Regions from separate parts of the Homo sapiens genome. Here all the other regions are linked to region 1. The links are contacts of gene promoters, found by promoter capture Hi-C in blood cells and fetal thymus (Javierre and others, 2016). All regions are on one chromosome and are shown on one strand. Each heading gives the region's core, a stretch centred on a gene start or on the middle of the fragment in contact. The rest is flanking DNA. Distances are from core to core; before and after follow the strand shown.

Region 1 (3,734 bases), core at 485-2,984:
GGTGTTATTGAGACTTCCTGTATGAGATGCCAAATAGACCATTGGTTATGAGTGAAGAGCTCAGACATGTAGCTTGGGCTGGAGAAGTAAATTTTTGAGTTGTCTGCCTAGGTGGTATTTGAAAATGTGGGAGTGGATGAGATTGCCTAGGCAGAGAACATTCAGTGATAAGAGGAGAGGATGATCTTGAGGGACTGACTTGGAAAAGAGACTAACAGGACTGACTAGAGATGTTGGAAGAAAAGGAGGAGAATGTGATGTCACCTCAAAAGAGTGTTTCTAGAAGACGAGTCCGTAGCCATATCAAACCTCCTGAAAAAGGACCCGAGAACTAAAAATACCAGTTGCACTAACTAACATCATGGAGGTCATTGGTGATGCTAGTGATTTTTTTGTTGTTGTTGTTGCAGGAGAAATGTTAAGGTTAGTGGAAAATTGATGAAATGGAAACATTGTGAGTAAAAAGAGAAAAGAAAAGCTGAGGGACTATTTGGGGATGGGGGTGGAGGGATGGAGAGTTTAGTTGGTAGTGCGAAGTTTCCAAGAAGATAGGTAGGAAAGTGAGTACCAGTAAAGGGCTTATTAAAATACCAAAGAGCCCAGCACTTTGGGAGGCTGAGGCGGGCAGATCATGAGGTCAAGAGATCAAGACCATCCTGGCCAACATGGTGAAACCCAGTCTCTACTAAAAATGCAAAAATTAGCTGGGCATGGTGGCGCACACCTGTAGTCCTAGCTACTTGGGAGGCTGAGGCAGGAGAATTGCTTGAACCCGGGAGGCAGAGGTTGCAGTGAGCCGAAATCCTGCCATTGCACTCCAGACTGGTGACACAGTGAAACTCCATCACAAAAAAAAAAAAAAAAAAAAAAAAGGTCACAGAGGGACTCTGTATTGTAACAGGAGGGAAGAAAGAAAACGGCAGGGTGCAGACTTGAGTAGATTTCTGTTTGGTAGAGGTGAGATGAAGGGATTGGCTTCTATTTTCTCTGTAATGAAAGAGGAGGGATTAACTACTTTTCTAGGTGTTAATAAGGGTGCCTTGTAAACGAATTGTTTTATATGTGAATGGATGCCTTAGCTTTCTAACTTTCACAGGTAAGTAAATATATATCCATGTTCATAGCGGTGGGAACAGAAACAATAGGTGTTTAAAAATACTAGATTGAGGCCGGGCGCGGTGGCTCACGCCTGTAATCCCAGCACTTTGGGAGGCCGAGGTGGGCGGATCACGAGGTCAGGAGATCGAGACCATCCTGGCTAACCCGGTGAAACCCCGTCTCTACGAAAAATATAAAAATTAGCCGGGCATGGTGGCAGGCACCTGTAGTCCCAGCTACTCGAGAGGCTGAGACAGGAGGATGGCGTGAACCCAGGAGGCGGAGCTTGCAGTGAGCCGAGATCGCGCCACTGCACTCCAGCCTAGGCAACAGCGAGACTCCGTCTCAAAAAAGAAAAATACTAGATTGATTTTGATTCTAATAGTGATGATAATTAATCTGATGATATTCTGATGGCAAGGAAAAGTATAAGCTCCAATCAGGCCCCTGTCGTAAGCCGCCTGACAAGTGAGAGAAATGAGGTTCACAGTTGGCTGGTCACAGCACAGGGAAAGGAAATCCACCCCCACGCTCCTTCTGGTCCAGGACCCTAAGGGTTAAGATCAACGAGAGTGGGCCATCACTGTTTCCTAGAACGGCCCCAGCAAAGCCGCCGGGGGAGATGAGGGTAACTTCCTGTTTCTGCCTTCCGGGTTTGAGAGTTTAGGACCCTGGGTTGGTGGGGTCAGAGGGAGAGGGGGTACCTTCCTCCCGGACCGCTGGGGGTGCAGGGCGCCTTGGGTGTAGCACCCAGAACAGTGAGTTCCTTCTTGGGGGGAAGGGAGCCGAGGGTTGCGGGCTAGAGGAGTGGAAACAGCCCCGTCCAGGCTGCAGTGGACGTCCGGGAGAGAGTTCCCGCTGCTGCCAGGGGCGAAGGCCCAGCATCTCCCGCCGACGGGCCACCGTCATCCTTGTCCGCGGGGTCCCTTACGGGATCTTGTCGGCCGGAGACCGTCTGGTATCCTGGAACTTCACCCCCCAGCGTCTCCAACTTGTACCAGCCAGCGGTTCTTAAAACTAGGCTTCAGGCAGTGCATTTTCTTTGAAGGCTTTCTGATCAAAGCACGGCCCCACTCTGATCACATTGTTGCTCTAGAACAGTGAAAACACTCCTTCCCCGTGGAGAGACATCTTAATGGCAGCCTTGTATGGTCTTGCATTTGCCACCATTTTGCTGAGCCACTGTTCCGGGGGCTCCTTTGCTGCCAAATTTAATAGTATTTTAGTAGGGAAAATGGGGGAGATGGTAATGTGTTGCCCAGACTCTTGCTGCTTTTGTAAATACTTTGATAACAATATGTAACTTAGGACAGCAAAATATATAACTCCATTCGAACAACTCCACCCCCTTCCTTTTTTTGCATTCAGGTGTATGGTTTTTTCTCCCCCCCAACTCAAACACTGGGGATATTAGTAATGTAGACTAGTTTCACGTTTCTCTAGAACAAATCCCCACTTGCTGAGTGTGCTTAGGGAATGTCGACTCACTTTGTTAACAAGGTTTAGGAATGTAGACCTCTGTTTTAAAATGCCAGTATTCTAAATATTCTAAAATAAAGGGACTCTGAGGATTCTTTGCAGTTTGGGATTATGCCCAGCTCTGCTTCCTGTTCTAGTTTACGATAATAGATCAGAGGGTGAAAAAGGTCAGCATCCAAACAGACTTGGAGCTCAGTCCTGCTCTACCACTTTCTAGGTGACCTTAGGAAAGTTTCTTAATACCTTTCAAACTCATCCTATAAAATGCTGGTAGTTGTTCATACACTTCAGAGGGCTACTGTAAGAATTAAATGACAAATGTGTGCAAATTATTTCATTCACTACCTGGCACATAATAGGCAGTAATGGTGAAGATACAATATAAGTACATATACTATTTTTTGTTTTTAAAATGTGTGCATTTGTATATCCTTTTACGTCCTTATTTTTCTCCCAAATAATGATACTCTTTATATTCTGAAATGGATGCCAAAAGTCCATATGTCACTGCCTTCCTGTGATAGATCACATTTTCTTCTTTTTCTTTTTCTTTTTTCTTTTTTTTTGTTGAGACAGAGTCTTGCTCTGTCACCCAGGCTGGAGTGGTGCAATGGCACGATCTCGGCTCACTGCAACCTCTGCCTCCTGGGTTCAAGCGATTCTCCTGCCTCAGCCCCCTGAGTAGCTGGGACCACAGGCGCCCGCCACCACACCCGGCTAATTTTTTGTATTTTTAGTAGAGATGGGGTTTCACCGCATTAGCCAGGATGGAACATTTTCTAGTCCCTTAAAATAGGTTAGTGATTGTTGGCTCCAGAAGACGAAGTTTAGGCTGAAATGGATATTGTGAATATGATAGACTTAGGAACTAAGTGCAAGGAGGAAGAGGTCCCTCTTTAGCCTCCTTTTTATATTGCAGGGTTATTGGCTATAATTATTCCACCTCGGCTTTGTCCTAATTTCTCTTTACTGGTTATATAAATCCTAACTTTCCTTTGAAATTGACTTCAAAGGTTTCCTTCTGTCAAGACCAAGTTATTCTTTTGAAACTAAACAGGGTGCTTTTTTTCTTTAGCTGCTGCTTATGCCTTCATATTGATTCCTTGAAGTCTTTATAAGTTTTATTATTGGTGTCTTAAAAAAAATACTTTGCTTTT
Region 2 (3,734 bases), core at 881-3,380, 500 kb before region 1:
AAAAATATGAATCAGAAACCTGGCTCTGCCACTACTATTGACTGATTAGTTCTGTGTCCTTGGACAAGTTTGGTGAGGGCTAAATTGGATAGTGCATGTCATGTATTTCATATCTTATGTGGCAATATTCTTTTCCCCAAATGATACTAAAGATTAGACAGCTTAAATACTTTGCCTCAAGACACAGAACTAGAAAGAGGCAGAAGAGGGCTAGCATACTGCCAAGCACATAGAAAGTATTCAGTAAATGTCTGCTGAATGAACAAACCACAGTCAGTATATACTCAACATTTACTTCAAATACCACTATATTCTCTGTTGTTTCCTTTAACTTATGCAACAAACTTAAAATATTTTTTATTTCCATAGGTTTTTGGGGAACAGGTAGTATTTGGTTTCACAGGTAAGTTCTTTAGTGGTGATTTGTGAGATTTTGGTCTACCCATCACCCAAGCAGTATACACTGAACCCAATTTGTAGTCTTTTATCCCTTACCCTCTTCCCACCCTTTCCCCGAGTCCCCAAATTCTATCATGTCATTCTTATGCCTTTGCATTTTCATAGCTTAGCTCCCACTTATGAGAACATATGATATTTGGTTTTCCATTCCTGAGTTACTTCACCTAGAATAATAGTCTCCTATCTCATTCAGGTCGCTGCGAATGCCATTAATTCATTCCTTTTTATGGCTGAGTAGTATTCTGTCATATATTTATACCACAGTTTCTTTATCCACTCATTGATTGATAGGCATTTGGGTTGGTTCCACATTTTTGCAATTACGAAGTGTGCTGCTATAAACATGCATGTCCAAGTATCTTTTTCATGTAATGACTTCTTTTCCTCTGGGTAGATAACCCAGTAGTGGGAATCCTGGATCAAATGGTAATTCTAGTTTTAGTTCTTTAAGGAGTCTCCACACTGTTTTCCATAGTGGTTGTACTAGTTTACATTCCCACTTCTACATACACAGCAGTGTAGAAGTAGCAAAAACAAACTCTTACTATTTATTTGGCATCTACAAAACCAGAAAATTCAAATAGAATTTTGATGGGCACATCTGAATTTACTTTAATGAGAAGAGAAAAACCATAAAGTAATTTAGGATAAGAGATCAATTGCAGTAATTCCCAGGGTCTGAGAAAAAGTTATGGCATATATTTTCACCATCAATCCTACTTGCTTTGGTTGGAATGTGTCCCCCAAATTGCATGCATTGGAAACTTAATCCCCAATATGGCAGTACTGAAAGGTGGGGCCTTTAAGAAGTGATTGGGTCATGAGGGCTGGTGATCCATTCATGGACTAATGGGTTGATAGATTAATGGGTTACTATAAGAGTGGGATTGGTGGCTTTTTTTTTTTTTTTTTTTTTTTGAGACAGACTCTTGCTCTGTTGCCCAGGCTGGAGTGCAGTGGTGTGATCTCGGCTTACTGCAACCTCTGCCTCCCTGGTTCAAGCGATTCTCCTGCCTCAGCCTCCCACCACGCCAGGCTAATTTTTTGTATTTTTAGTAGAGATGGGGTTTCACCACGTTGGCCAGGCTTGTCTCAAACTCCTGACCTTAGGTGATCCACCCACCTCGGCCTCCCAAAGTGCTGGGATTACAGGCGTGAGCCACCGTGCCTGGCCTGGGACTGGTGGCTTCATAAAAAGAGGAAGAAAGGCCTGAGTGGGCATGCTCAGCCCCCCTGATCCCTGCAGTCCCCACCAGCAACAAGATTCTCCCCAGATGTGGTCCCTCCACCTTGAAATTCTCAGCCTCCTCCCTAACTGCCAGAAATGAATTCCTTTTCTTTATAAATTACCCAGTTTCAGGCATTCTGTTATAAACCACAGAATACAGACTAGGACACTACCCTTCCTACCAGTATCCCTATCTTCCACTTGAAGAAAATACATATTAGTAGAAGTGGGGAGTGAAGGGGTTAAATCCAAGTGCATGTTTCCTACTGCCTCCTCCCACTACAGAAGCTAGGGTGCAGATACATGATCCAATAAGCTTGACCAATTGGATGGTGATGTAATTTGGATCTCCCCTGCAAATCTCATGTTGAGATGTAATTCCCAGTTAGAGGTAGGGCCTGGTGGTGTTTGGGTCATGGGGACTGATCCCTGATGGCTTGGTGTTGTCCTCACCATAGTGAGTTCTCATGAGATCTGATTGTTTAAAAGTGTGTGACACCTATCCCCACCCCCTCGCTCCTGTTTTTGCCATGTGAAGTGCCTGATCCTACTTCACCTTCCACCATGAGCAAAAGCTTCCTGAGGCCTCCCCAGAAGCAGATGCAGGCACTAGGTTTCCTGTACAGCCTGTAGAACCGTGAGCCAATTAAACTTCTTTTCTTATAAATTACTCAGCCTCAGGTACTTATAGCAATGCAAGAATGGCCTAATATAGGTGGTCTCTCCTGGGACTTGAAATCTTGAGGAATAATGAAAATAACCCCTTAATAAATTCCCTTTTTGCTTAAGATAACCCAGAAGAATCAGTTTCTGTTGTAGGAAACAAAGACTTCATTAATGCAAATGTCAAGAGAAAATTCAAACTAGTTTTTACACATCCTACCTGTAAAAGTTTTGAAAGCTACTAAAAGGCTTTCTGAGCTGTTAAATCTGAAGGATTTATAACAGATTGTTATTTTCAAACACGAGTATTCTATGTATACAGTTTGTGTGTGTGTGTATTCACACACACACACACACACACTCATGAACCACACTGTGCAGACTCAATATAAATGTACACCTGAGTTGTGCAACATTCAAATCAATGCAGAAATCAAGCAAAGATTAGATTCAGTGAATTGTAGCTATTTCTTGGAAACATTACCTTTTTTTTGAGACAGGGTCTCACTCTGTCACCCAGGCTAGAGTACAGTGGCGTGATCTTGGCTCACTGCAACCTCTGCTACCCAGGCTCAAGGCAGGCTCAAGTGATCCTCCCACCTCAGCCTCCTGAGCAGCTGGTACCACAGGCCTATGCCACCATGCCCAGCTATTTTTTTTTCCCCCAAGACAGAGTCTCACTCTGTCACCCAGGCTGCAGTGCAGTGGCGCCATCCTGGCTCACTGCAACCTCCGCCTCTCGGGTTTAAGCAATTCTCCTGCCTCAGCCTCCCAAGTAGTTGGGATTACAGGTGCCCACCATCACACCCGGCTAATTTTTGTATATTTAATAGACATGGGGGTTTTACCATGTCGGCCAGGCTGATCTCGAACTCCTGACCTTGTGATCCGCCCGCCTCGGCCTCTCAAAGTGCTGGAATTACAGGTGTGAGCCACCGCGCCCAGCCCACATCCAGCTATTTTTACAATTTTTTTGTAAAGATATAGTTTTGCCTTGTTGGACAGGCTCGTCTTGAACTTCTGGCTCAAGCAATCCACCCTCCTTGGCCTCCCAAAGTGCCGGGATTTCAGGCATAAGCCACCACACCCAGCTGGAAACATCTTTTATCTTAAAAATTCCTAAGCATCCTATAAATTACCTCATTACTATAAATTTAATTTTAACGTAGTATTTTAACACAGTTGCCAGGACCTCATTCAAACCTTCATTTTATAGATGGAGAAAGAGAGCTCACACAGGGGTGTCCAAGGGAGATAATACAGTCATGGGTTCTTAGTTTCCGCTTCTGGTTGGGTCAGTAAATACCTCCTCATCTCTCTTTTCCGCTTATCACTAGAAACAGAAACTAAAAACCATGGCTTCAGGCTGTTAACAGCCTAAAAC
Region 3 (3,734 bases), core at 493-2,992, 480 kb before region 1:
GGAGTGATTCAGCACACAGGCGCAGCAGCTGAAGAATTTAATGATGATACTGACTGATGAAAATAGCATTTATTAATGATTGAGGTATTTGTTTAAAATTCAGTTCATCCAAAATGGAGTAATATCCTTCACCTTCAGTGTGTAACCAAGCACAAAAACAGTATCAATGTTGAATCTGTGAATGGTTTTCCGTTTACTGTGATGTGCTACTGTAAATATACCTCTTTAATTACTTCTGGTCTCTTTGGTGACCTGTTTAAATTTGTGTACATTATTGTACATAGAATAAAATGTTTTCACATTTTTATGACAAAATTTGAACAAATAGCTTTTTAATAGATGTAATGATCATATGGTGCGTCACCTGTGCCAAATATTCTTCAATGAAATTATATAATGTAACTTTGGACCTCAGTTTTTCTTTAGAAATGGGTGGGAGAATGAAAATGCAAATCAGGAAACCACATTAAAGTCAAGGAAATAAAATAATTTGACCAGAGGATAAAGGACATGAGAGAGTATTTTAAAACTAAAGAAAAAATTAGCTGCCAGAAGCAACTGAGGACCTTTTTTGAAACTTGAGTAGCAGTGTAATTGAGCTGAGTTTGAAAGTCCTGATTCAGAGAGAGACTGAGGGTTGACAAATAAACTGTATCAACTAAACTTTGATATAAACCAGAATGTGCTAAATGTTTTTTATGTAAAATTGTATATTTGTTAGCCATTCTGTGTCTGCAGTATTGTCATAAAATTGTCCTTTCATTCTTTTGAAGATATTACAAAACAAAAATAGTTTTTTTTAAATTGTTTTAAACTAAGATACTCAATGATATAAAAACATCCTGATCTGATTTTACGAGAAAAAGAAGGGGAATGGTGGGGAATGGTGTGTACCGATATATAGTATTTCTTTAGACAACTTGCAGATAATTTCTTTATTGAAACTATCAGGAAGTTTTACTATGAAATTTTACATACATGATGGAAAGTGGAAGACATATACCAATTATATTCCAGGAAAAAATACTTTAATAGTATTGTTATATAGTGTATTGGCTAATTCCAGTGGATCCTCATCTCTCACTGCTGACATTATCTCCAATATTTGACTAAAACAAAACAAAAACAAAAATGGTTAAATCTCCAAGTATACATTTAGTTCTAAAGCTATATAATATTTTTCCACACAAAGGAAAATATTGGCACACCTTTAATATAATAAAGCTTAACAGTTATTAAGTTTTTCAGCAATATCAATAGAAAAACTTACTGCCAGTAACTGGAAACAGATTTATGGACTGTCTTGCATATAACTAGAGCTAAGAACCAGGTTCAAGTAAATTATTAAAGCAGCCATCTGTATTATGTTCACCAATTATAGCATTAACTGAGTGGAAATGAAGAGTCCTTTTCAATTGTGAGTCATAGCATGTTCATTAGTGGGTCATGATGAGCATTTTAAACATTGACAAGTACATTGTACTCAATAAGGGTAAGTACTGTTCCATTTTTTGTTAGGTTTTATTATGTATGTGTGTCCTAAGTCACAACGTAATTTGTACTGTGGGACAGCAGCCACAGTTGGAAATCTACTGCTAGAGAACTAGTCCTTGAGAGACAGCAAATGAAGGTATTAGGTTGCTGCAAAAGTAATATTTACTTGGAAAAATGTGTGGTTATTGAGGGCGAGGGCTTTCTGTACCTCTACCCTTGCGAGAGAAATAAGCCCAGGTGTCCATCCTTCAGTTTCTTTCTTTCTCTGTCTCTCTCTTCCTTCCCTTCCCTCCCTTCCTTTCCTTTCTTTTTCTTTCCTTTCTTTTTTTTTTCTTTTTTCTTTCTTTTTTGAGACGGCGTCTTACTCTGTTGCTCAGGCTGGAGTGCAGTGGCACGATCTCGGCTCACTGCAACCTCTGCCGCCTGGGTTCAAGTGATTCTCCTGCCTCAGCCTCCTGAGTAGCTGGGATTACAGGCACCTGCCATCACACCCAGCTAATTTTTGTATTTTTAGTAGAGACGGGGTTTCACTATGTTGGCTGGCCGTGGTCTTGAACTCCTGACCTTGTGATCCACCCCACCTGGGCCTCCCAAAGTGCTGGGATTACAGGTGTGAGCCACCGCGCCTGGCCGCATCTTTCAGTTTCTGTGCTTACAGTAATGATGATCCGTAGTGTCTCCATACTTATTATATATAAGTGGAAGATTTTTAATACATGAATTAGAAAGTTCCAAAGTCCAAATTGAACATTTAAATATTCTTTGCCTAAGCTTTTTGTTCCCTTAGTATCTTAAATGTTAACACCTAAAGGAATTAAGGATGGAGATCTAAGATTAATGGGAATTTAAAAAATTGTTTTGTAATGTGACACAAAAGCCTTGCTTGATGTTTATACTAAGCAAACACTACACTAAAATTTTATCTGACAGTCAAGATACACTAAAAGCAAATCTATTAACATTTAAATTAAGACAGTGAAAATCCATTTTTCTTAGGAAACTACTGAATGTCCCTCTGTATGCACTTCTCAGAATTGGAACTCTTGATTAATGCTGCTGATGACACAGTTTTGAAGGTCACAGCAGCTTTGCTAAGATTATATTGCATAGCAAATTCATTTTATTGAAATCGCTTATAAGAAATCTATTGGGCTGGGCCCAGTGGCTCATGCCTGTAATCACAGCACTTTGGGAGGCTGAGGCAGGCAGATTGAACTCAAGAGTTCGAGACCAGTGTGGGCAATATGGTGAAACCCTATTTCTAGTAAAACAAAAAAAATTAGCCAGGCATGGTGGTGGACGCCTGTAGTCCCAGCTACTCGGGAGGCTGAGGCAGGAGAATTGCTTGAACCTGGGAGGTGGAGGTTGCAGTGAGCTGAGATTGTGCCACTGCGCTCCAGCCTGGGCAACAGAGCGAGACTCTCTCTCCAAAAAAAAGAAAAAAGAAAAAAAAATCTATTGGAGCTTAGGACATCCTATTTTACTGTTTGATAATGCAGTTTATGGAAATCTTTCTTCGAATAACCCTTCTGTAGCCAAGCCATGCTATTTCCATACATCTTCAGTGGTCAAAGCTGCAGTTATTCCAAAATGAATATAAAGTTGTTTAATGTCCCTGAGAATTTAGTGGCTTTTGTTTAATGTGGCACTTTTACAGTAAGCACAGGTTTTTGTTTTTTTTTTTTGAGAGAGTCTTACACTGTGGCCCAAGCTGGAGTGCAGTGGTGTGATCTTGGCTCACTGTGTGTGATCACACAGTGGTGTGATCTTGGCTCACTACAACCTCTGCCTCTCAGATTCAAGTGATTCTCCTGCCTCAGCCTCCCAAGTAGCTGGGATTACAGGCGCCCACCACCATGCCCGGCTATTTTTTTGTATTTTTAGTAGAGACAGGGTTTCTCCACGTTGGCCAGGCTGGTTTTGAACTCCTGACCTCAACTGATCTGCCTGCCTCGGCCTCCCAAAATGGTAGGATTACAGGTGTGAGCCACTGTGCCCAGCCAGGCAAAGGTTTTTAAAGTCTTGCAAGATCTACATGATTCCTACCCTATCTCCTTTCCAGCCCTTCCCCATACTGATACAAGTTATAGCTTTAAAAAAAATAATTGCCACTCTCCTGCTTAAAATCCTTTGGGTAGTGATAAAATCTAAGCAAAATGCTGGCATATAAGAGCCCTCACAATCTGGGCTCACTCTACCTTCCCAGACTTGACTTCTGCTTACACTGTGCATCCTACTTT
Region 4 (3,734 bases), core at 505-3,004, 460 kb before region 1:
ATCCAAAAAGCCCAGTGAGTTTCATGGGTATACCTCAACACAAGTAGTAATCCCTCCTCTGTAAGCTGCTTGATGGCAACATGGCCTCAATTGCTCATCTCTAGGGTCCCCTAAATCCCCAAAGGATTGTTTTAAAATCTTCTTGTTGTAGTTTTTAAGACCTGCACAGTGTTAACATTTTAAAGCCCCAAGAAAAATGCCCAAAGCAAATTCCTCCTACCCAAGAGAACAGAGCTCTAAATTGCAACAAGGAAAGGAGTGTAGCATAAGGCCAGGAAATTGAAAATACAGGGTATGGCTTAAAGGATAAACTTTCCATAAGTAGATCAGGCCTTTCCTTGTTTTCACTCTTTGCTTCTCTTTCTTAGTCTTTAAAAAATACTTTTTCCAGAAAAGGTCTAGGTACTAAAACAAGAAAAAAGTATTAAAAAAAAAAACTTTTAAAAGTTCCAAACAAAAACAATAGCTAGCATCTTCCTTTAGGGTGGTAATTATTTCTAGTATGAGGAATGTAACAACAGCCATGATTGTGCACATACTCTGCATGACTCATGTCACTATGGGCTTTATGTGCCTTATGTTAAGAAAGGTAGGCAGCAATCTCCCCATTTTAAAGGGGATGCACAAAGGGATGAAGTGACACCAAAGGCAGTTGTAAATCTCACCCAAAGATCTGCTGATTCCAAAGCTCATCCTTTTAACATGGTCATACACCGCCTTCACTTACCATTATTTTTCAGACACTACATCTATTGTATATTAATTTTTCTGTCTTGCCCCCTAATTTTCTATTTTTCTTTTCTCATACATCTCCTTTTTCCTGACTACATATTTACTTAAAAACAAATCATGGCCGGGTGCAGTGGCTCATGCCTGTAACCCTAGCACTTTGGGAGGCCGTGGTGGGCGGATCACTTGAGGTCTGGAGTTCGAAACCAGCCTGGCCAACATGGTGAAACTCTGTCTCTACTAAAAATACAAAAAAATTAGCCAGGCATGCTGATGGGCACCTGTAATCCCAGCTACTTGGGAGGCTGAGGCAGGAGAATTGCTTGAACCTGGGAGGTGGAGGTTGCAGTGATCTGAGATTGCACCACTGCACTCCAGCCTGGGGGACAGAGTGAGACTCCATCTCAAAAAACAAACAAACAAACAAACAAACACAATCATACACTGGTTGTTCCAGATGGTAGAAAAGTGCAGACCAAAATCTGAAGTCTTCCAAAAATAAACCCAATAGTGAAAGCTGAATTATAGGCTTTTTATCCATGCTGCTCAAAGGGAATAAAAAAGAAAAGAACCTTCCCTCTGTATTAAATATTCAACAGACATTTACTAAGTGCCTACCATGTGCTGAGAGTACTGTGCTAAGTGCTATGGAACTGTCACATGAGTAAGACTTGGTGTGTGCCTTTGAGGAACTCAAAGACACCTGTCTGTTGCGGGGAGGAAGGGATAATGAAAACCCATTTCTGTACAACATGGTAAGTGCTGAAACAAGTAGAGTGCTGTGTATACAAAACAGATTGCATGCTGTGAGTATATGCGAGGGGAAAAGGAGTGAGGGGCAGAGAATGTGGGTATTTGTTTCCTTAACAATAATCAAAATGTGATTGTTACTAGTGTGTCTTTTTTTTTTCTTTTGAGCGGAATCTTTCTCTGTTGCCCGGGCTGGAGTCCAATGTCACGATCTTGGCTCACTGCAACCTCCTCCTCCCCAGTTCAAGCAATTCTCCTGCCTCAGCCTCCCAAGTAGCTGGGATTACAGGTGCTCGCCACCACGCCTGGCTAGTTTTTGTTTTTAGTAGAGACGGGGTTTCACCATGTTGGTAAGGCTGGTCTTGAACTCCTGATCTCAGGTGATCGGCCTGCCTTGGCCTCCCAAAGTGCTGGAATTATAGGCATGAACCACCGCACCCGGCTGTTTTTTTAACCAAGTCATTTGATGTTTTATTATTAAAATTTTAAAAATCTCAAGTAGAACTGCCTATCTTATCAAAATTTCCTCCTACTTTGTCATTAGCTTATCCACTCTGGAAGAAGCCAGTGTCATATGCTGTCACCTTAGAGCATCCCCCAGAAAGTCAGTCCTTCCCTCTGCTGTTCACATACTTTAGTAAGCACTTCCAACCTATTTTAATTATTTATGTCCTCTCTTGGAAAAAGTCTTATTCTTCTTTGTATCATGCTGAGGAGGCACTTGGTAATCATTTACTGAATGTAGTTTGAACCTCTCTATTAGCAATTAACGCTTGGCATGTGAGTTCAAGCACAAGCTGTGATATGCATATTCTAAGATCAGACGCTATTCTGATGATGGTGAAGAATCTTCAGAACAGTTAAATTAAACTGATACTGTCAATGTTTTCGATTAATCCCAAAAGTGAGTTTAAAGTATTGAGGTTGCATTTTAGAATCAGTTCTAACTCATTTTGGATGAAAAGTCATATGGGCAAAAAAACACGGGGACTCTGCCATTGCCCTTGCTTGTCATAACACAGTCTATTAGACTTACAAGGCTTATCCTGACCAAAACCAGACATGAAAGTTGAGGAATATGATATCTGGGCTTAACCTAAAGAACTATTAAAGAGAACTGTTTTTCTATTTCAATGTGAACACGAGAACTTTTAAGGTTAAGTGAGCTGGCCTACATAATATTCGACAGAGGTATAGGGCTTCAGTAACCCTGCTAGTAACCACATGAATGTCCCTGAAAGGCACAGCAAATCAGCAAATAATATACCACAAACTAAACAGTTCTACAAGGGATGTACAAATGAGCGACCTAAAAGAGAGAGTAGGTATCCACAGAGCATTACGTTAACCCATCCTATTCTACTTGGTTATAGATCTTCACACTTCAGAACTTTGGAGCTTGAGGTCTAGGGTATGACAGACTCCACTAGCAGATCTGCTCCTCCCCAAAGTGATTTTCAACCAGGGGGTACATATCAGAATCCCATTTGTGGGGAGCAGGGAGGGAAGCGGGAGGAAGTACACTTTCCTCATGCGTAATTTAAAAAAATCCCTTCAGGCCATCAAGTCACTGGCTTAATCATATGATCATATCACCATATGACAAAATTATTAATTGTTAAACATTATGATATAGCTGGATGGTATCTTAAGAGAGAATCTGATCCTAATTCTTCTTTGTGTATAAGAAACTAAGGAGGACAGAGGATTGTTTATTCTTAAAGGTCTCTAGGGACAGATATTCTACCTTATTCATATTTCTGCATACTATGAGCTCTCAGCAGTGGCTGGCACACAGTACTCCATAAATATTTGTTCAATGGATGAATAAATTAACCCCCTTTAGAAGCTCAGTCTAATGTTTTATCATTTTCATAATTAAGATGTTTTTGAAATTCAACAAAATGCTTACGTTTTAAATTCAGACTGTGACCTAAATTTTCTTTTCAATCTATAACACTCACCCACCAGTATGATGACAGGAGCTCCAAATTTAGCTCCAGGCAATGGGTTACAGGAAGTCCTGCAGGGTCGTGAGCTTTGGAGTTTTCTCAGAAGCCACCATTCAACATGGCTCCTATTAAAGGAATCTCACAGTTCCAAACTAGCAATATTCAATGCCCAGCAAGAGTAAAATAAGCTTTTCTAGCTTTGGTGATTGATCCTATAATACTTTTGTGGGTTTTTTCTTGCTGGTTTTTTTTAGAGACGGAGTCTCCTTATGTTGCTCAGGCTGGTCTGGAACTCTTGAGCTC
Region 5 (3,734 bases), core at 367-2,866, 420 kb before region 1:
AATCAGTGGGTAATGACTCCGATTTGCTCCCATATCTTTTTTCTCTTTAGCAATACTAAGCTGTATGAGCACAGGCCTGAGGGTATATGGTTCGGTTTGTCTGTTGCTCAGAGAGTGACAAGGGACTTGAGGTTATTCGAAAGGAAGCTGTTGTCATGATGGAATCTAAGCTGAATTTAAAAAAAAACAAAGTCAAGCCAGTGGGGGCAGATGCAGAGAGGGAAGGCCAAGTTGGGAGGATCTGTGAATTGGTAGTCTGAGTTTCAAGGAGGCATTTAAACAAATGAGTGGGAAAGGGAGAGTGTGGTTGGATAGTGGGATATTTGAATTCATGATTTGGAAGTTGTGCTGGTTCTGGTGATAACACTGAGGATATTGACCTTTGGAAGTGTTTGGCCAAGGGGGACCCGAAGGAAGGGCACTGTGGCCAAAGGGGGCAGTGTTTTGTCAGAAATGTCTCACCGTTTAGAAGCTTGAAGTATATGCATGGTGAGCCGCAGGTGCATTCTGCAATTGATCACTGGGATAACATCAAACAATTCCTCCTTTACACATCCCATCACTTCAACACTATTAAGCAGCACGTGTGACTGGAGGCCCAGGGCAGCCACAATCCAGAATGGGTGATCTTCTGTTAGGACATTTATCTTGGCCATAACTAGAACTGGAGGTAGTAGGGCAGCACTTGGCAGAACTGAGCATATTTTTACATGTAATTTTGTGATTTATTTTTGTTCTTGGTTGCTAGGAAGGGGGCTTAGAATTAACATCCCCAGCATATTATGAACTGAGGTTTCTTAATGGTGCTTTTGGAGAACACTTAGCTGAGACACAACAATAAATGTTTTTCTGGTCAGTGGGTGGGGGCTGTGACAAGGAGAATTGGAATGATAGTTGTCATTTTTCTGTCTGCAGAATAAGAGGAGGTCCAGATAATGAGGTGATGAAAAGGGGTAGGGGGAAGAATAGGAAGGGTAGGCTTTGCTATTTAAAAGAATGGGAAAACCCTTAAGGAGACTTTTCTAAAAGTGTGGATATGAAAATAAAGCAGGTATATGTAAAAAACACTTTTCAATATTGTGATCAGATAGTGTGTAATGTCAGTGACACACCATAGACATAAAGCTGACCCTTCACTGCAGCAGACAGATTTTTATAGTCAATTAGATTCCTTTGGTAATGATTCCTTCCTTGCCTCCTTCTAGGTTAAGCAGCTGCAGGAGGAAACGCCACCTGGTGGTCCTTTAACTGAAGCTTTGCCCCCTGCCCGAAAGGAAGGTGATTTGCCCCCACTGTGGTGGTATATTGTGACCAGACCCCGGGAGCGGCCCATGTAGAAAGAGAGAGACCTCATCTTTCATGCTTGCAAGTGAAATATGTTACAGAACATGCACTTGCCCTAATAAAAAATCAGTGAAATGGTCTCTGGTATGACTGACGTTCTTCTAAGAATTACTGTGATGCCAAGTGACTGTGCCACTGTCATTGTTTTATCAATCGTGCATGTAAAGAAAATGACAGGACATGTAGTCAGTCAGCTGTGTTCTCTGCAATAAATCACTGATAGCATATGTTACCAGTAAGGAAAAACTGAGGCAGAACCAGATTGAGGCGAACAAACTCTCAAGTCAAAGGCCTAATTAGCTGTGGTAACTAGAAGGAATAAACAAAGCCAAGAACAGAAATACTGAGGATTTAAAAATAACCTTTTTGGTTTTCTAAAGATTTCACTAATGGAACTTAGTTTTTATTAGAAGAACAACTCTCCCTAAGAAGTACATAGTCAACAAATAAGCATGGAATTTGTGGAGTTCTGTCAGGGGTGGAGGTTTGATGGTTGGGGTTAAATGGTCCAATCTGGGATAAAACTTTGTGGCGCTTATTTTAGAAGCAGTTTTCCAGCTTTGCTTCTGCTACCGTAGCTTGGATTGTCTGCGGACTCAAAGGTAAGGGAATAACAGAACTCCTTAAATGTTTCAGAAGCTTTGTTTTTGTTTTTTAAAGATAAAGCAGTTTTTAAAACTTTCAACCCAAAACAGCTGCTTTTAGTTCTTGATCCCTCATTAGCTAGAACTGTTTTCAAATAGTTTCAGGCAACTAATGATCTTATAGCCATCACAAAAATATTTTGTCACTTTTCTACGTAAGCTCAATTTGAGTCCCAGTCCATCTTCTAACATTTGACTAAGACCTCAAACTGAATTGTAACAAGACTTGAAATACAGGACTTTTTTAATCTAGTGGTTCTTTATTTATAACGTAGGCTGAAGCAATTGTTACAATGTAGGAGGGAGACACATTACACAATTGTTATTTATACAAGTTTAGAACAAAAAACTGCACAGGGAGAGGTCAACTCTCAGTACAAACTAGCAACTAAAGCACAATAATTTACTGTTAGAAACGATTTCTTTCTTTTTAGCTGTGACACTGCTTTTACAATATGCAAAAACACAAGCAGAACTACCCAAGGTGTGTTGTCACATTCTTTCTACATTGAATTTGGCAACATTTTATTTATTCAGATTATACTAACGTTTAAAAACTAAACAAGTGAAAAGCTGTACCAAGGTACAGTTACATCCATTTATTTCAAAGGTTTAAAATACCACTTTTATCTATTGTGATTACCTTGCAGCGATTTCTGCTTTTGCAAAAACCATCTCAAGCATCATATGCACAATGCATCAGCTACTTTTAGTCATCAAGATTGGTGGGCTAAACCACAGGCACTACTGTTGTTTATATTCTGTAAAAGGAGCTTGTTTTTCAAAGAAAAAAGCTTAAATAGTTTCTAATAATCATGCCTTTGCTTTAAAGCCGTAACATAAAATGTCCTTGAGCAATCGCAGCAGTGTTCAATGTTAATATATAGAACAATGACCATACGGTACGTTACTCTCACATCCAATGCAGTTATGTGTTAAAGCATAAGATTAGGTAATTGAGGGTTAGAGCCAACAGGAATCTGCAGGGTGTATGAAACCCACCAAACTCCTCCTCTGCCTTGAGAGGGTTCGGTCAGAAATGTGCCCTGTTATGACCTGACTGCTAAGGGACTTGCTTGCTTTCTTAAACACTATTGTCTTCAAATGTGATCCCTTTAAATCTACAAATCTCTGTTGGCTTTAGGGGATGGGCAGTATAACAAATTTAACTTCCACTTAGAAAAGACAAATCTTTTCCAAAAAACATTTACCCAGAATACAAAAAAAGGACAGTATAGTGGTCAGATTCCCAGTGACAATAAACAAATCCTCCTCTCTTCAATGTTTACTGTAAAGCCAGTTAACTGCCATTTATTTGAAAGAAGAAAAGAAAAACAAGCCCCCAGATTGGTAAACACATTGGCAAGTTGCTAGACTCCAAGCTGGCTACCCTTGTCAAATCTGTTCGAGTTTTTTCAAAATACTTGGGCTTTTTAACGCACCCAGCCTGCTGGGCACAGTTAAGTAAAAGGCATTTACTATAATCTAAGAATTCCCTGCTATTATCATTTTTAAATGTTTTCACATTTTTAAAACTGCCTTACCCTTTTGGATGTATTTGGATTCCATAAAGGTGAGTACAATCAACGAGAAACTGAAGTGGGAGATTCTACGACTGCCCAGAGGCAGCAGCATGCATGGGGCTGGTTGTGGGTGCTGTGTGCAGTCCAGAGGAATCATGGGAGAAAGGAAGTCAAGTCCTTAAACACCCTACAGAAACAAACACTGCAATCCAGTATGGCTTAT
Region 6 (3,734 bases), core at 614-3,113, 400 kb before region 1:
CAATCACTGGCCGCAGCATAGAGATGAAGGTACAGAATCGGCCACGTTCTTCAATCAAAGCCTTCCGGACAGCCTGCTTTTCTGTTTCTTCCAATAAGAGATACTTATCATTGACATCTTGGAGAGCACTGTCCAACTGAGGCTGGATATCACCTCTCCCTGCAAAAAACAGAGACCCAAGCACGGCTTGCTGAAATACCAGCTTCTGGAACAAGTGCCCCTCCTCCCTGGGGTCCTTGCTGGAGTCAAAACCACAATTTTCCAGGATGTAAAAAAAGTATTTATTCATGCCCCAAAAGGATTTAAGGCAGCTGTTTTTCTAGGACCAGCCATTTCCAATTTTCAATGCCCAAAGGGCACATTTAGCCTGGCTTATTCCTGACAAGGAAAATGTCCTGGGGCAACTCTTCATGACTTGCCTTCTCACACTGCACAACCCCCACCAACTCTTCTGCCAACACAACCCTGGAACACAGAGCCAGACAGCATTCTTTCCTTGCAGAACATTCTGAAGAGGCTAAGAGATGTGGAAACAAGGTAAGAGCCTGTGGGTGTTTCCAAAAACGGGCACGGGCTGGCTTTGTTGGGTCAATCTCAATCAAAGAGCCTCTGTCTGGATAGAAGGATCTGCTCCTAAAGACAAAGGTGGCAAGCATCCGCTCTCCTGGCTCTGGGGGCCCATGGGAATCCTTGGCAGTTCCTTTGACTCTCTAGTGGAGAGTCTTGAATGCTCTTGCTGTAGAACAAGCCCAGTAATAACAAGACCTCCAGACAGGTCTCTGATGATGAAAAACTGAAAGTGGGGTCTATGCGGAGCCTGGCCCATGTTTAGGAATTATCTGGCCAGGTCCACAGACCCCAGTTAGGTGCAGGCAACCACTTCTGGAGTTTAAGACAGGGTGTTAGTCTTTTGAATGACTAACACATGGTCAGCAAACCATCTTTGCAAATAAAGTTTTATTAGAACACAGCCAAATCCATTTATTTACCATATTGCCTGTACCAGTTCTCCCTACAATGGCAGAGTAGTGTGACACAGAGTATGGCCCCCAGACCATGGCCTCTTGCAAAAGAAGCCTGCTGCCCTAAAAGATAAACATGGACCAAGAGGCACTGTGTCCAAAGGAGCAGCTACTACAAATCTGATCTGTAGGTGGGGACAGCAGGGTGACAGCAGGGGACACCAGCTCATGAGCTTCCACCTTGGGCTGCCTATGCAGGGGCCTTACCTATCACTCAAACCAGAGAGATACTTCCTAAACTTCTTCAGGGCAGGATTTTGGTCTTTCCCAGCACAGCCCCTAGTACAATGTCATGTGTGTATACAGCAGGTGCTTGATAAATGTCTGTTTAATAGTTTCAACACAAAATGTTAGAGCTGGAAGGGGTTATCCAATTGGGCCAATCTGCTCATGTTTCAATGGAGACCAAGTCCTAGAGAAGTCAAGGGACTCACCTAAGGTCACAGAAAGAATGGTACAGAGGCAGGGTTGAGCCACACTGCCTAATTCCCTTAACACTGAACCTATTCTCTGCCCCACCGCCTCGCAGGAAGGGCCCTGCAGTTTCCATCTATCCCTCTTAGTGATGTAGAGAACATTAAATGCAATGAACCATTTGGTCTGAAGAAAGAAAGGGTCAGGGAAAATTGCCTTGGATGTAGGAACATATTCTGTATTTTTCACTCATAAGCAGAGGAGAAAGTTTAATTTGGAGCAAGAGGCAATCAGGCTTAAAGCACATCCCAATAGAAAAGGTAGTCAGATTTTAGTAAGGAAAAGTCACTTCTCAGACAGGGAATAAGTTCTAAGTTAGCACATTATGAGAAAATTATAGTCAAAGATCACCCTTGAAAATGCCTTAGATGGCCAGTAAATACAGTATGGACAGCTTTGTGTATATAACTCTCATCAGTCAAGTGAGTACAAATGTGTAGATAGTATGTATCTAAGTCCACGGAGGGGTGCTACCCAACGATTATACTACACTGGCCCCTCCTCTGTGGTTTTGCTTTCCAAAGTTTCAGCTACCCATGGTGTGGTAAAATACGGTATTTTGAAAGAGAGAAAGAGACTACATTCGCATGACTTTTATTACAGTATATTGTTATAATTGTTCTATTATTATTGTTGTTAATCTCTTACTGTGCCTAAATTATGTATTAAACTTTACCATAGACATGTATGCATGGGAAAAACCACAGTATATGTAAGGTTCGGGTACTATCTGCAGTTTTAGGCATCCACGGGGGGTCTTGGAACATATCCCCTGAGGAGAAGGGGGAACTACTATATATAAGAAATTTGCTGCTTGAGAAGTCTCTGCATAATTTTCTCCTTTTTGGAGACAGAGTCTTGCTCTGTCACTCAGGCTGGAGTGCAGTGGAATGATCATAGCTCATTGCAGCCTCAGCCTCTTAAGCAGCTGGGACTACCAGCGTGCACCACCATGCCCAGCTAGTTTTTCAATTTTTTTTTATAAAGATTGGGTCTTGCTTTATTGGCCAGACGGTCTTGAACTCCTGGCCTCAAGTGATCCTCCCACCTCAGCCTCCCAAAGTGCTGGGATTACAGACATGAGCCACAGCGCCTGGGTGTTTCAGCATATTTTCAAGGTGACCCACTCACCCATTCTTCCATGTAGTCACTACCTCCACCCCTCAGAATAATTCTTTACCATGCCTTCAATTTCTTCCTCAAGGATGTAGGAGTAATCATCACCATACATTAATCTGGCCACCTGAGCCACTGGTTTCATGTGTTTTTAGTAGACAAGAAACCTGTAAAAACATTCTCCCATTCTCTCCTGGAATCTGCCTCAGGGCAGGTGCTCTGTTCACAGAGACCCACCACCTGTGGCCAACGGCTTACAGAGGGAAGGCTGGGTGCCACCAGCACTATGAAAACTGTGAGTTTTCTCTTCTATTTTAAAATGCTGGCTAGTGCAAAATTAATCCAGATATACTTAATGTGTGTATGATACGAGTCCACCAGCAGGGAAGCTCTGGAAAGCTGTAAACCCTTGCTTTTCCTCTGCAAGCAGCCAAACAGCATGGCCAATTGTGGGCCTTGTTGGGTCACATGACTCAGGGCTGGTCTAGAGGGCTACTTCTAGTCTCTCGATCTATTCTATGATGTTCTAATAACAAAACACAGAGGGCTGCAGACCACCTCAGAATGTTCTCAACTCTCGTGTAGGATGGTGAACAGAAGTCGGGAGACACCAGATTGAGACACATTGTGTTTGACCAAACTTGCTCGGTGGGCTTTGATTATGGTAGCAATTTAAAAAAATAACAGCCTATGAGGCCGGGAACGGTGGCTCATGCTTCTAATCCCAGCACTTTGGGAGGCCGCGGCGGGCGGATCATGAGGTCAGGAGTTCAAGACCAGCCTGGCCAATATGGTGAAACCCCGTCTCTACTAAAAGTACAAAAATTAGCTGGGTGTGGTGGCACACGCCTGTAGTCCCAGCCACTGGGGAGGCTGAGGCAGAAGAATTGCTTGAACCTGGGAGGGGGAGGTTGCAGTGAGCTGAGATCATGCCACTGCACTCCAGCCTGGGCGACAGAGCAAGACTCCATCTAAAATAAATAAATAGATAAAATAAAATTAAAAAATAACAGCCTGTGATTGTCAGAAATTGGAAAAATGTATCTTTACTTCCTTTCACAAGTTATAAGGCACATGTCTATCCATAATTAATAATGCTGACTTTAAAAACTGTATCTACAT
Region 7 (3,734 bases), core at 641-3,140, 380 kb before region 1:
GAGGGGAGGGGTGAATAATTTGAATGAACCGGCAACTTTCTGGTGGCTACTGATAGTTGCTGGGGACATAGAATGATTTTCATGATATAGCTTGAAGCAGGCAGAATAAACCATCCCCATAGTCACAAAGAGGCCTGTTTTAGGAGCCACCATTCACACTCCCAGAGCACCCGGTTGGGTCTTCATTGCAGTCTTCTACTTTGCTTTGTAACAGGGTTAATTTATTTCTGTTTCAGTAGATACCACACTCATCCTTCTGTAGCCCCCATAGCGCCTAGCATGTAAAAAGCATCAGAATGACCTGAACAGGGGATGAGAAGCTCTTACGAAGGTCTGGTTGGCCTGTGTGAAGGGAACACAAACACTCTCACTCGAAAGCATCAGTGCTATTTGCTGTGCAGATTACACTTAGTTCCTCTCATACCATCAAGGTCCCTGACAACTCACTCAACCAGTTCACAAAGACTTGTCTCACCGACCTGGGACAACGCACAAAGAGAATGGGCAGGAGACCTAGGGTAAGCTTATATCATTAAAAGTCTGGCTTTCAAAATGTGCTGAAATGCCTTAAGTATAAATGTTTGGCATTTAAACCTGCCATGATGATTTTCACTTCTTTGGAGGGTTAGGGGGAGGCAGTGTCTTGCTCTGTCACCCAGGCTGGAGTGCAGTGGTGCAATCTCTGCTTACTGCAACCTCTGCCTCCTGGGTTCAAACAATTCTCGTGTCTCAGCCTCCCGAGTAGTTGGGATTACAGGCATGCACCACCACACCTGGATACTTTTTGTATTTTTAGTAGCCATAGGGTTTCACCAAGTTGGCCAGGCTGGTCTCAGACTCCTGGACTCAAGTGATCTGCCCACCTGAGCCTCCTGAAGTGCTGGAATTACAGGTGTGAGCCACTGCACCCGGCCTATGATTTCTTCTTTTTCTTTTTTTTTGTTTTTTGAGATGGAGTCTCACTCTGTCGTCCAGGCTGGAGTACAATGGTGCAATCTTGGCTCACTGCAACCTCTGACTCCCGGGTTCAAGCGATTTTTGTGTCTCAGCCTCCCAAGTAGCTGGGATTACAGGCACCCACCACCATGCTTGGCTAATTTTTGTGTTTTTAGTAGAGATGGGGTTTCAACATGTTGGCCAGGCTGGTCTCAAACTCCTGACCTCAAGTGATCCGCCCGCCTCGGCCTCCCAAAGTGCCGGGATTACAGGTCTGAGCCACCGCGCCCACCCTGTGATTTATTCTTAATTCAGCTGAATACAATTCATGCCACTGAGGGATCAGACTATCAGCTGCTGAATGTTGTTTCACACCAAAGAAACAGCACTCAGCCTCACAACGGGATCACTTTGTTCTCCTCATCCCCTGACACGGACGTGCCTACAGGAGAGTAGGGACAGAGTGGGCCCTTGGCTGTTTTGGTGACACCAATAAACCTAGCAGAGGGGCCAGGCAGCAGCTGGCAACTTCCCACAGCGCCCCCCAGCGTGCAGTGATGCGCTAGACATCTCGCCCCTGTACCTTTTGCGTGGTCTTTATCCAGCTGGTTGGCCACTTTCTTCCATTCTTCCATCTGTTCTTGAAGTGGGTTTATCAGACAATCAATTAAAGCGCTTTTACCAAGCGGGGGGGAAAAAGGGAGAAATTAAATAGATACATTCTGTTGTCAGGATTTAAATGTGGTTGTCAAAACATACCTAAATCACAATTACCCGAAACGTTCTCATCTAAACCCCGGGGCTCCAGAACAGCCATGTTCCAAGAATGCTTTTCTTTTAAGACAGAGTCTCGCTCTGTCACCAGGCTGGAGTGCAGTGGCGCGATCTCGGCTCACTGCAACCACCACCTCCCAGGTTCAAGCGATTCCCCTGCCTCAGCCTCCCAGGTAGCTGGGACTACAGGAACACATCACCATGCCCAACTAATTTTTTGTATTTTAGTAGAGATGGGTTTTCACCATGTTGGCCAGGATGGTCTTGATCTCCTGACCTCATGAGCCGCCTGCCTTGGCCTCCCAAAGTGCTGGGATTACAGGCGAGAGCCACCGCGCCTGGCCCCAAGAATGTTTTTCAATGACTACTAAGAAGCTGTCAATGTGACTGGTGGGAGTGACCCTTCTTCCCATTTTCCCTGTGATATTCTAGTGTTTGTATTAACAAGCCAAGTTGCAGAACCACAGGGGTCACCCCTCTGAGAGCTGCACAACAGGGACCCCCAAAATGCAAAGACACCTGGGCCTTATCTCACCCCCAATGGAGACTTTGAGGGTGGGGCCCAGCATCACTATTTTTAAAAAAGACCCACAAGATTCTGCTGTGCATGCGGCATGACAGGTCATAAATATACACTAAGTATGCACAGCCTGGAGAAAGAGAAGAGTGACGAGACCCAGAAAATTCTCGAGCTGCACTGCCAGCCTCGGGGTTACTGAGGGGTGAAGGTCTCTGAAGGTGTGCCCCTTCATTTTGTGCAGTCTCCCAAACAGAATCACATAAAACTGCTGAATGATGCTGATCTGCTTGGAAAGCAATGTCCATTTTCACTTGAACATTTGTAACCCAATTCCGGTGCCAGCTACTACCATTTCTTCCCTATTCTGGATGCCTGGAAGCCAGATGGGAAGCTGGCGGTGTGGAGTGGTCTGTGAGCTGCCACATCCCTCAGTGAGTCTGGAGGATGCACACAGGATACCAAGGCACATCTCACTCTCCAATTTCACAGCCCCTCTTCTTGCGAGGCTCCCGCAGGGCAGTGGGGGCCCAAAAGACCTCAGCAGGCTGCACCGGCTCCTTGCACAGACAAAGGGTAAGGAGAGACCCATGCAGGAGCACAGGCTCTGTGAAGGCAGGGGCCTGGCTGGCTGGTGATCTGCTGCACCCCCAGGGCCTCGACCAGTGCCTGGTATGCAGCAGATGCCTAACAATACTCAGGCAATGAATGAGCCAAGTCAGACAGATTGTGGGGATTTAAATGCTGTGTGCCACACATGACTGCTTCCTTAACCTGAAATCTGCAAGGGTGTTGGCGATCGGGGCCAAAACATGCTCCTCACCTCGAAAACTGCCTCAGCTTGGCTTCAATGCTTCTGTGCCTCATGCACATCCTGGTGAGAGCAGATCCAATCTCCCTGGTCCCACCTGAAAAAGCAACAGAGGCAAAGGTGAGGGATAGAAGACTAGCAGGGATCATGGAGGTCTTTAGAGAACTTTACAAACAAGTCAGATTTCACCACATTGTAAAATATAAGCCACCATCTTTAGAAGCTTCTCACCATGCCCATGTGTGCATACACACAGGCACATGTAAACATGTATGTACGTATGGTGACAGATTTCTGTATCACCAAAACTATCACCAAAGGCTGCTCCTACTATATACCACACTCTGTTAGTTTCTATTCCATCTGATTTTTTTTGTAATGCTGATTGTAATCTAAAAATTGACTTTACAACCTATAAATCGACCATGACCTGTAGTTTGAAAAATACTTCTCATGAAAGATAATCAATATAGTATCTGCTGTTTAGGGAAGAGCTGTAGCTTTTCTCAACAATTCTGACAAAATAATCCCGTTAACATTATTTAGAACAGCCAAGGCAGCCACGCTAGCTAATTATTTCAAGACAAATGTTCTAGAATACAAGTAATTCAGAGAATAGCAAGGCTAAAGCAAAATGAGGTAATAGGACTTTTTTTTTTTGAGATGGAATCTTGCTGTGTTGCCCAGGCTGGAGTG

What was found. Contacts are between HindIII fragments. The CHiCAGO score rates a contact against its expected background, and 5 or more counts as called.
Region 2: a contact is called between a fragment that was not itself captured here and the fragment with the promoter of ZNF572 in region 1, in 3 of 17 cell types (fetal thymus, naive B cells and total B cells). The highest score is 6.6, in fetal thymus.
Region 3: a contact is called between a fragment that was not itself captured here and the fragment with the promoter of ZNF572 in region 1, in 3 of 17 cell types (naive B cells, total B cells and fetal thymus). The highest score is 8.5, in naive B cells.
Region 4: a contact is called between a fragment that was not itself captured here and the fragment with the promoter of ZNF572 in region 1, in 4 of 17 cell types (total B cells, naive B cells, erythroblasts and 1 more). The highest score is 8.2, in total B cells.
Region 5: a contact is called between a fragment that was not itself captured here and the fragment with the promoter of ZNF572 in region 1, in 14 of 17 cell types (total B cells, naive B cells, endothelial precursors and 11 more). The highest score is 20.3, in total B cells.
Region 6: a contact is called between a fragment that was not itself captured here and the fragment with the promoter of ZNF572 in region 1, in 16 of 17 cell types (naive B cells, total B cells, fetal thymus and 13 more). The highest score is 25.6, in naive B cells.
Region 7: a fragment that was not itself captured here is called in contact with the fragment with the promoter of ZNF572 in region 1 in 16 of 17 cell types (naive B cells, total B cells, fetal thymus and 13 more); the score reaches 20.1 in naive B cells.

What each region holds. Positions count from the first base shown.
Region 1 is chr8:124,971,561-124,975,294 of GRCh38, forward strand. It overlaps ZNF572 (zinc finger protein 572), which reads left to right and starts at 1,735. Exons shown (of 3, transcript NM_152412.3): 1 at 1,735-1,856. RefSeq lists an enhancer at 1,678-1,837. The HindIII fragment of the contact is 4,233 bases long and covers 1-3,734 here.
Region 2 is chr8:124,468,855-124,472,588 of GRCh38, forward strand. All of the region lies in intron 1 of RNF139-DT (RNF139 divergent transcript), which reads right to left. Among named protein-coding and RNA genes, the nearest start is that of RNF139-DT, 3.8 kb to the right of the region's middle. RefSeq lists an enhancer at 2,640-3,141. The HindIII fragment of the contact is 259 bases long and covers 2,002-2,260 here.
Region 3 is chr8:124,487,588-124,491,321 of GRCh38, forward strand. RNF139 (ring finger protein 139) reads left to right here. Exons shown (of 2, transcript NM_007218.4): 2 at 1-1,031. The coding sequence ends at 57. TATDN1 (TatD DNase domain containing 1) reads right to left here. Exons shown (of 12, transcript NM_032026.4): 12 at 911-1,109. The coding sequence ends at 1,007. Among named protein-coding and RNA genes, the nearest start is that of RNF139, 15 kb to the left of the region's middle. The HindIII fragment of the contact is 1,041 bases long and covers 1,223-2,263 here.
Region 4 is chr8:124,511,290-124,515,023 of GRCh38, forward strand. The region is part of intron 6 of TATDN1 (TatD DNase domain containing 1); the gene reads right to left. Among named protein-coding and RNA genes, the nearest start is that of MIR6844, 4.6 kb to the left of the region's middle. The HindIII fragment of the contact is 3,726 bases long and covers 1-3,617 here.
Region 5 is chr8:124,548,556-124,552,289 of GRCh38, forward strand. NDUFB9 (NADH:ubiquinone oxidoreductase subunit B9) reads left to right here. Exons shown (of 4, transcript NM_005005.3): 4 at 1,206-1,424. The coding sequence ends at 1,337. It overlaps MTSS1 (MTSS I-BAR domain containing 1), which reads right to left. Exons shown (of 14, transcript NM_014751.6): 14 at 2,229-3,734. Among named protein-coding and RNA genes, the nearest start is that of NDUFB9, 11 kb to the left of the region's middle. The HindIII fragment of the contact is 729 bases long and covers 1,253-1,981 here.
Region 6 is chr8:124,568,378-124,572,111 of GRCh38, forward strand. It overlaps MTSS1 (MTSS I-BAR domain containing 1), which reads right to left. Exons shown (of 14, transcript NM_014751.6): 7 at 2-159. It overlaps LOC105375740 (a long non-coding RNA gene), which reads left to right and starts at 506. Exons shown (of 2, transcript XR_928608.3): 1 at 506-537. The HindIII fragment of the contact is 8,842 bases long and covers 1-3,734 here.
Region 7 is chr8:124,588,101-124,591,834 of GRCh38, forward strand. MTSS1 (MTSS I-BAR domain containing 1) reads right to left here. Exons shown (of 14, transcript NM_014751.6): 4 at 3,051-3,135; 5 at 1,520-1,611. Among named protein-coding and RNA genes, the nearest start is that of NDUFB9, 51 kb to the left of the region's middle. The HindIII fragment of the contact is 2,738 bases long and covers 522-3,259 here.